2 separate regions of the Homo sapiens genome follow, and region 1 is linked to region 2. The links are contacts of gene promoters, found by promoter capture Hi-C in blood cells and fetal thymus (Javierre and others, 2016). All regions are on one chromosome and are shown on one strand. The core of a region is centred on a gene start or on the middle of the fragment in contact, and the rest is flanking DNA. Distances in the headings are between cores, read along the strand shown. Region 1 holds the start of HIVEP1 (HIVEP zinc finger 1). Region 2 holds the start of EDN1 (endothelin 1).

Region 1 (4,171 bases), core at 1,201-3,700, 280 kb before region 2:
GGCGGCTCGGCCGGGCGGGGCGGGGAGGGGCGAAGCGGCGGGTAGGTGGCGGGGCCGGCGCGGTCTGGGGCCCGCCCCGCCGGGGAGACCCGGGGCACTGGCTCCGGGTTCGTGCCGGGCCGGGCGCCCATCCAGTCCCTACACCCGGTCAGAGCTGGCGGCCGCGCCGGCCCAGCTGGGCCCCGGCGCCTGGGCGTCCCGCGCCCCTCGCCCCGGCCTCAACCCCAGCCCCCGCGGGGACGCCCCCTCCCCCGCCCACGCGTCGCCGCCCGCGGCCTCCCCTCCTCCCGCCCCCGGGGATCCCCTGCCGCCCCGCCCACCCGCGGGAAAGCCTCCGACCTTCGCCCTGCCTCCCCCGCGCCGCCCGGCCCGCGTTCCTCCCGCCGGCCCCAAAGACGCTAAACGTGCCCTACTCTGCCCCGGGGGAGAGGTAAAGCCCGCGCCCGTCCTTCCCGCCCCGGGCCCCGCGGCCCCAGGGTCTGTCCGCCCGCCCCGCCGCGGCGCGCGCCCCCCAGCCCGGCTGCCCGGCTCCCTGGCGGCCGCGATCATGCCGTGGCTCCGGGCGCCGGCGAGCTTCGCCGCCTCCTCCGCCCGGCGGCTGCGGCCCCCGCCCGCGCGCCCCGCGCTCCCCCCCCCGCCCCCCGGCCCGCTCCCCTGTTTAATATTTCAGTGCTGGGTGGTGTGAGCGCCAGTCGCCGGCCTTCAGCGTGGCGGCTGCTGGGCGGCGGCAGGGTGGCGGACGGAGCGGGGGACCGGGGAGCGGCGGCCGCCGGAGGAGGTTATGTTTGTGTTTGGGGTTGTCAAGTGAAGGAGGGATCCCAGGCGCCGCCGCCGCCGCCGCGCGGGGGTCGCGGAGATCCCGAGCCGCGGCCGCCGCCATCAGCAGCGCAGCTCCAGGGCCGGCTGCAGCGGCAGCGGCTCCGCCGGGCGTCCTGGCAGCAGGTTCGGCGCGGGCTCCGCGGCGGGGGCGCTGCAGCTGGGGAGGGCGGCGGGGCGGAGGGGGGGGGGGGCAGGAGCACATCCCTTCGGCGGGCGGGGGGCGTGCGGGCGCGCGTGTGTGTGTGTGTGTGCGTGTGTGTGCAACCGCCGACCTTGCAGAGGGGATGGCTGCGTGCGGGAGACCCTTGGCACTTCTGGGCGCCCTCGCCGCGCGCGAGCCGAGCAGGTACAGAGGGACCCAGCCTCCCCAGCCGCCTTCCAGCCGCAGACGCATTTTGCAAGAGGGTGGGGGGTGAAAGAGACCAGGCCTCGGCATCCCAACCTCCCGGCTTTGTGGGTTTCTTTCCCTTTCGTTCTTTGCTCTAAGTGCCTGTTTACTCCCGGCCACCTGGGTAGTTTCTTTCCGGGTTGGGAGTGCGCGCCAGCTGCAGTTGGGAAGGGGGCGGTGGGTTGGGGTGCGGGTCGGCTCGGGCTCGCCTTGGGGTCGGGCTCGGGAAGGAGTTGCTGGCTGGAGAGGGGAGGGGGCGGCGGCGGAGCAGGCGGCGAGGAGGAGTCTCAGGGCTGCCGCGCTCGCCTCATCTCGTCCTCCTCCTCCTCAGCTCTCTGCATCCACTCCAGGCTCCTTCCTGAGCTGGCACTTCCATTCCCCCCCTCCTCCTGGCATGCGAAGCGCTTTGTTCAGTGCAGCGTTGCAGAGGGGTTTTCCCAGGCTCCGCCCTCCACATTCATTCATGTTTTTTCTCCTTGCAACTGTCTTTACGCTTTTTGATCGTGTCATGTTTTTGCTCCATGTAGTATTTATTTCTTTCCCGTAAAGGAACGGTTTATCACTCGTCCTAGTCGCTACAATGCTGCTGTCTTTGGAAATACCCACTTCCCCCCACAAGGATTTAAATATGGGATGGACAGCTAGGGACAGTGGGTAGGCAATGAACGGGGTAGCAGAAAGCCTTTACGGACAGGGAATGTGCATATTTTACATTTATGCTCCGGATCCCATGGGATCACATGATTGGATTACAGTCAGAGTTCACGCTTTAAAAACTTCCAAATATCGTTACCATTTAAAAGCTTTAAGTTTAACAACGAACGTAGTTAAGCATTCATGCAATTTATTTGGTTCAGCTGTGTCTCAATTCTTTATTGAATCAGAACCTTCCTGAATTAGATAGTGGATGTTTCTTTAGAGCAAGGAGCTGAGAAACCCTATCTTTTATAGATCACTTAGCACAATGCTAGATGAAATACTTAGACCATCATTTTTTTTTGTATTATTTTACCATGTAGTTAAAAATTGCAAATAATTTTGTGCTGAGCTGACATACAGCCAGATCAGGGATAAAATACTGAAGTTAATCGTGGCCTTCTTTACCTTCTGTTTCTTTGCTGTAATGAAACCATAAATTTCTAAAACCTTATACTGGGATGTTAGACACATTCCTTCCCATATAGGCTTTCTTAAGGAGAATTAATAGTTCAGCGTTTTTGTGTGACAGGCAAAGCGTCTACAATGTTTAGTTTAGTCCTTATAACAACCTTCTGATGTGGATAATATTTCCTAATTTTACAGTTGGGAAATCTGATCTTCAGAGAGGTTAAGTAACCTGAACAAGGCCACACAGTAAGGGGTAAAGCCTGGCTTTGAACCCACTCCGGTTTGACACCAAGATAAGTCGTCATGACTTGCTGCGCCTCTTGAAAGAAATCCTGAAAGTAGATGTTATCAGCTCCACAAAATAAGCACTGGATATAACTGAGTCATGCAGTACCACATTCTTTAGTTGTTTATCTTGGACAAGTTACTTATCCAATTTTTTTTTAATCTGTAAAATGAATAAATGATAGCTACCTTCTTAGTTAACAGATTAAATTAGGGAATGTGTAGAAAGTACACAGGCACATAGTAGGTGCTCATAAGTGTTCTCTTGTCTTCTACAGTACCACTAATAACAAAAGCTTTAAGCCTTCCTTACTGTTCTATTCTTGTGTCTTTGCTTAATGACTAAACATTGTTTCATGTTTAACAGTGACAGTGGGCTTTGCTTCTCAGTTTTCTTGCAGTAAGTTAAAATTTCAGCTTTAAGATCCTTGAGAATCTTGTGGAAGAGCCTGAGGTGGCTGATTTGGGGAGATAGGTGATTCGGTTTTGGGTCATTCTTATCTTGGCCTATTATATTTCAGATCACTGTGTTTTAAAATCTGTAAGTCAGGACAGGCTAGGTTGTGCTGCAGTAACAAATAACTCTCAAACCTCACTTATTTAAGCAAACAAAAAGGTGTTTCTGGCGTATGCTGTGTGATCACGTGGGTTAGCCAGAGCTGACTTTGTGGTGGTGTCAGATTTGCTGTCTGGAGCAGTGCTGATCCCATGGCAGAGAGAGAAGAGCTCTGGAGGATCATGCTGTGGTAATAACTAAATGCTCCAGCCTGGAAGTGAAGTCTCATCCGCTCACAGGTCGTTAGCTACAGCTCCTCACACGTTCCTGGGAAACACAGGGAAGCAGAAAGTGTGGTCCTACCATGAACCTAGAGGTCTGGAATAACTGGAGTAGCCACAGTAGCAACCCCTTGTATTAACTGAGTTAACTCTAAAACAAGATGAACAAGACATTGTCCCTGCCCCTATGAATGGGCAGATTTACTATACATGCCTAACATAATCCTTTTGTAGCCTGATGCGATACTTTACTTGTTCCTGGTATTGTTGTTTTAAAACACAAAGTGAGTTTTTTTACTCTTGTCTGATAAAGATACGGTGTTTTTTTTCTGTTTTCTTAATGAGAAGTCCCGATACTGACAAAATGACCTCTGTTTAATTAAAAGTTAGTAATCTTTTGCAGTGGTGCCCAGCTTGGTTACTTTTTCTTGAGTTTAGGTTAGTGCTCTGCTAGGCAGTAACTTTTAAAGTATCTTTCTCCTCTGAAGGTAGTAAAATGTGCTTCTCCGTTTTTTTCTTTTTCAGCACATGGATTAATTGATGTATGTTGAGTTTATGGAGCTGCCTTTTGGTGGCTTGCTTTATCTGCAGTTTTTAAGAAGAAAAAGAAGGCCCTGAGTCAAAGAAGATGCCTCGAACTAAACAAATTCATCCCAGAAATCTAAGAGGTAAAGCATTGCATTAAGTAGAAGTAAGGCTTGCTGTAAATCTTTTAACAAAGTATCTCTTTGGTGACAGGAATGGCCGTTTGTTAGATGTTGACCCTGCCTGGTGAGGAGCGCTATTTCTCTTGCT
Region 2 (4,228 bases), core at 375-2,874:
AAACCCACGGCTTTGCTGTTGGGATAAAAACTGTCCTTTTGATTTTAGAAGGAGGAGGGAAAAAAGGTTTCCCAGCATGTGTGTTGTGCCAGTCTTGGAAATTCATCCGTGCTTGAATTCCACCCTCCATCCCCAGAAAAACTGGAGTAAAACAAAAAGAGGAGATGGACAAAGTGTGTATTTGATGGCATCCCCTGGGAAGAGACTCTAAATTTATCCCATAGGTCTTACTGGGCCACTGTGAGCGCTTTGGTGGAGAACAAACAAAAATTCTGGGTGCTCAGTTGTCTAACCTGAAAAATGGGACTAGCGGAAAAAGCCAATGTGTTCCATGCACCTTTTGCTTTCTTTATTAAGGCATGATGTCACCTGTACAGTAACTGCCCTGTGTGTACTTCAGGGGGGGATTTCAAGGTTAGATAGACAGGAAATTGTTTTGAAAATGTAAACACATTATTAAATGTGAAGTATTATCTGATTCCTTGTTCGAATGGCATTTCCTTCTCAGCACCACCTTCCTTGCATATTCACTTAACCTTGTACAAGAACACCTTTTTGCCCTAAATGAAGACACCCCCCCAAAAAAAAGAGTCCCAGAAAATATGTCCCTGCTTGTGCGGGGAATAAATAGAATATTCTGAGGTGCATTCCTCCTTCCTATGTTAGGCAACATTCCTTGACCCTCCTCGGCCCCCAAGCCAGGTTGCGTTTTTTTCTGCCATTTAGAAGGGTTTTCCTTTTTGTCCTAGTAAAACATCAGCCCCTGTAGCTCTTCATCTCCCCCTGGTGTTCTTCTCCCGCCATGTCTTAAGATTGGTGGCACCGACCAATCTTAAGATTTAAGTTCTGTGTGAAAAACACCTTTGCTTTTCAATCAGTTTATCAGCCTCCTCCGCAGGGGAAGTGTGGACACACAAAAGAACTTATCGGGGCTTCTCATCAGTGATAGGGAAAAGACTGGGCATGTGCCTAAACGAGCTCTGATGTTATTTTTAAGCTCCCTTTCTTGCCAATCCCTCACGGATCTTTCTCCGATAGATGCAAAGAACTTCAGCAAAAAAGACCCGCAGGAAGGGGCTTGAAGAGAAAAGTACGTTGATCTGCCAAAATAGTCTGACCCCCAGTAGTGGGGCAGTGACGAGGGAGAGCATTCCCTTGTTTGACTGAGACTAGAATCGGAGAGACATAAAAGGAAAATGAAGCGAGCAACAATTAAAAAAAATTCCCCGCACACAACAATACAATCTATTTAAACTGTGGCTCATACTTTTCATACCAATGGTATGACTTTTTTTCTGGAGTCCCCTCTTCTGATTCTTGAACTCCGGGGCTGGCAGCTTGCAAAGGGGAAGCGGACTCCAGCACTGCACGGGCAGGTTTAGCAAAGGTCTCTAATGGGTATTTTCTTTTTCTTAGCCCTGCCCCCGAATTGTCAGACGGCGGGCGTCTGCCTCTGAAGTTAGCAGTGATTTCCTTTCGGGCCTGGCCTTATCTCCGGCTGCACGTTGCCTGTTGGTGACTAATAACACAATAACATTGTCTGGGGCTGGAATAAAGTCGGAGCTGTTTACCCCCACTCTAATAGGGGTTCAATATAAAAAGCCGGCAGAGAGCTGTCCAAGTCAGACGCGCCTCTGCATCTGCGCCAGGCGAACGGGTCCTGCGCCTCCTGCAGTCCCAGCTCTCCACCGCCGCGTGCGCCTGCAGACGCTCCGCTCGCTGCCTTCTCTCCTGGCAGGCGCTGCCTTTTCTCCCCGTTAAAAGGGCACTTGGGCTGAAGGATCGCTTTGAGATCTGAGGAACCCGCAGCGCTTTGAGGGACCTGAAGCTGTTTTTCTTCGTTTTCCTTTGGGTTCAGTTTGAACGGGAGGTTTTTGATCCCTTTTTTTCAGAATGGATTATTTGCTCATGATTTTCTCTCTGCTGTTTGTGGCTTGCCAAGGAGCTCCAGAAACAGGTAGGCACGCTCGTTGACTTGTAAGTCTCGGAATTACAAGTTAGTGTGTTCTTATCCACCTTCATGCTTTTCTTGCTTCTATTTTTCCCCGTTCTTTTTATGACTGCAGCTTAGAGAGCAAGTGTCTGAGAATTATTGCTGAAAGCTACTTTAAGTCTTCTAGTGTAAAATGTAAAATTCCTCTATTGAATACAATTAGGTGCAATTGACTATAACATGACATTAAAATAACTTATCGTTTTATTATTATTATTCCATTATGTGTTTCCTTGGCTTTTAAAAAATGAGAAGAGTATGGACATATACAATTTAGTCAAATGTATGTTTGTAATATATGTGTTTATACAGGTACACAGGCCATATAGGAACTTAAATCTTATTTAAACACTATTTTAATAGTGTGTTAACGTGTAAAATATTTAAGCATTCCAGCTTGAAGCCAAGGAATTGTATCCAGTCGTTCAAGCAATGTATGTTCAGTAAAATCACCTGCAGAGCAAAAGTCTGTTGACTAACTACCGCCTCCCCCCCCCCCCGCCACCACCCCCCGCAGGCGGTTTCTGGGTGAAGCAGATGTTTTCTTTAAAATTTGTCATCATTGACTTTAGGTTTCTTTTGGCAGGTTTTTGGCACCCAAAACAGTGTGAGCTCTCTTTTCAGCTTTATTCACCTGTGCTGGGAGGGGAGCTAGGATAATTCTTGGCTGCCGAAGGATTTAGGCAGTGCGTGTGCATCTGCCCGGGTCCCCCCCGTTTTTAGGGTCAGTGCACTTTTTTTGTCTTTTCGTGACCCTGACTAAAGAGAAAGGATGTCAAGGGAATGAAAATCCTGGAATGTGTCTGATCATTTGAAATGTACAAAATTGGGCAGATAAGCTGCATGGCTAAATTGTTAGGAGGAAGAGGCAAGGCAGTAGTGGAGAAGGGGGAGGCAGTGGATCCCACACAAGCCTGATGCCCAGGGATTCGGAATTCAAAATCCCCCCAGCCTACCTTCAGTCCCCTGACCTGCTTCTCAGCCCCACCTTAGGTCACTGGTTTCTATGGAGTTACCCTCCTGAATTGAATATTGAATAGTTAATTTCTCTCTCCAATCATTTTCCCCACCTAATTTTGAAAGATATACATCATCTGGGGTACCCTGTGCCCTACACAGCATGTGAAGTGGATGGGTACCCCCTAAAGAGAGGGTCATCCTGAATGGGGAAGTGGCCCCAAAGCTAGGAATAACTGTGATTTCTTGTCTTTAGTCATGTGCCAATGTTAAGTAAGCTTCAGTGGATAGTGCTGTCCTACCAAGTTCCTTGTAGAAGCCAGCCGGATTTTCAACAGGCAGCATTCCACAGCATTTCCCTGAGCCTGCTTCAAGAGGGGTGGGGGAAGTCCCTTTTCAGGTGTTTATCTCCTCTGCATTTGTGTAATCTCCCTGAAGGTGGATAAGCCAAGGGCATGAGGGGGAGGCAAAAGGTGAACTCATGTTAAGGAGGGAAAAAAATAAAGAGCCCTTTTTTCTGTGTTTCTTGCTGATGGCAGGCTGTGTGCTTCATCTGCTTTTATCTGCTCTGCTAGCTCTGACTCTACTGTGATCCAGCATGTCTCTCGGCGTTTGAGGAGACATCCCCCACTGACCTGCTCTTTCTCTCCCCAGCAGTCTTAGGCGCTGAGCTCAGCGCGGTGGGTGAGAACGGCGGGGAGAAACCCACTCCCAGTCCACCCTGGCGGCTCCGCCGGTCCAAGCGCTGCTCCTGCTCGTCCCTGATGGATAAAGAGTGTGTCTACTTCTGCCACCTGGACATCATTTGGGTCAACACTCCCGAGTAAGTCTCTAGAGGGCATTGTAACCCTAGTCATTCATTAGCGCTGGCTCCACTGGAGCCCAGTTTTAGAGTTTCTTTTCTAGGGACTCTGAAGGTAGTCCTTCTAACACCATCCAAGTGCCTCAGTGGGGACAGTTTCCCTCTATTCCTGAAAATAACGACAGCTTCGTTCTTAGCAACCAAGGGGAGGGTCTTCTGAGGCCCCGTAGCTCAGGCTACTCATGATGGGACAAGCAGGAGGCCACTGCACGTTTCAAATGAGGAACTTTCAGTGAGAGGGCCTCAGGGGGACACTCTCACAGTGGCATCTGATGGGGTTTCGGGAATAATTGCCGAGGTCAGATGTGGGTTAGTGCAACCTGTGCTTCTCATGGGAGGGTGGAGACTGAGAGGCAGAAGTGATGATATAGAGGGTTAGAATCACTTAATTTTACTTACAGAAAAACCTAGGCTCA

What was found. Contacts are between HindIII fragments. The CHiCAGO score rates a contact against its expected background, and 5 or more counts as called.
Region 1: a fragment that was not itself captured here is called in contact with the fragment with the promoter of EDN1 in region 2 in 4 of 17 cell types (endothelial precursors, M2 macrophages, M0 macrophages and 1 more); the score reaches 8.4 in endothelial precursors.

Annotation. Positions count from the first base shown.
Region 1 is chr6:12,011,625-12,015,795 of GRCh38, forward strand. HIVEP1 (HIVEP zinc finger 1) reads left to right here and starts at 688. Exons shown (of 9, transcript NM_002114.4): 1 at 688-942; 2 at 3,902-4,044. The coding sequence starts at 4,005. RefSeq lists silencers at 1-522, 703-842. The HindIII fragment of the contact is 885 bases long and covers 2,009-2,893 here.
Region 2 is chr6:12,288,737-12,292,964 of GRCh38, forward strand. It overlaps EDN1 (endothelin 1), which reads left to right and starts at 1,625. Exons shown (of 5, transcript NM_001955.5): 1 at 1,625-1,957; 2 at 3,605-3,773. The coding sequence starts at 1,894. RefSeq lists enhancers at 1-234, 1,378-1,477, 1,488-1,557. The HindIII fragment of the contact is 4,555 bases long and covers 1-3,226 here.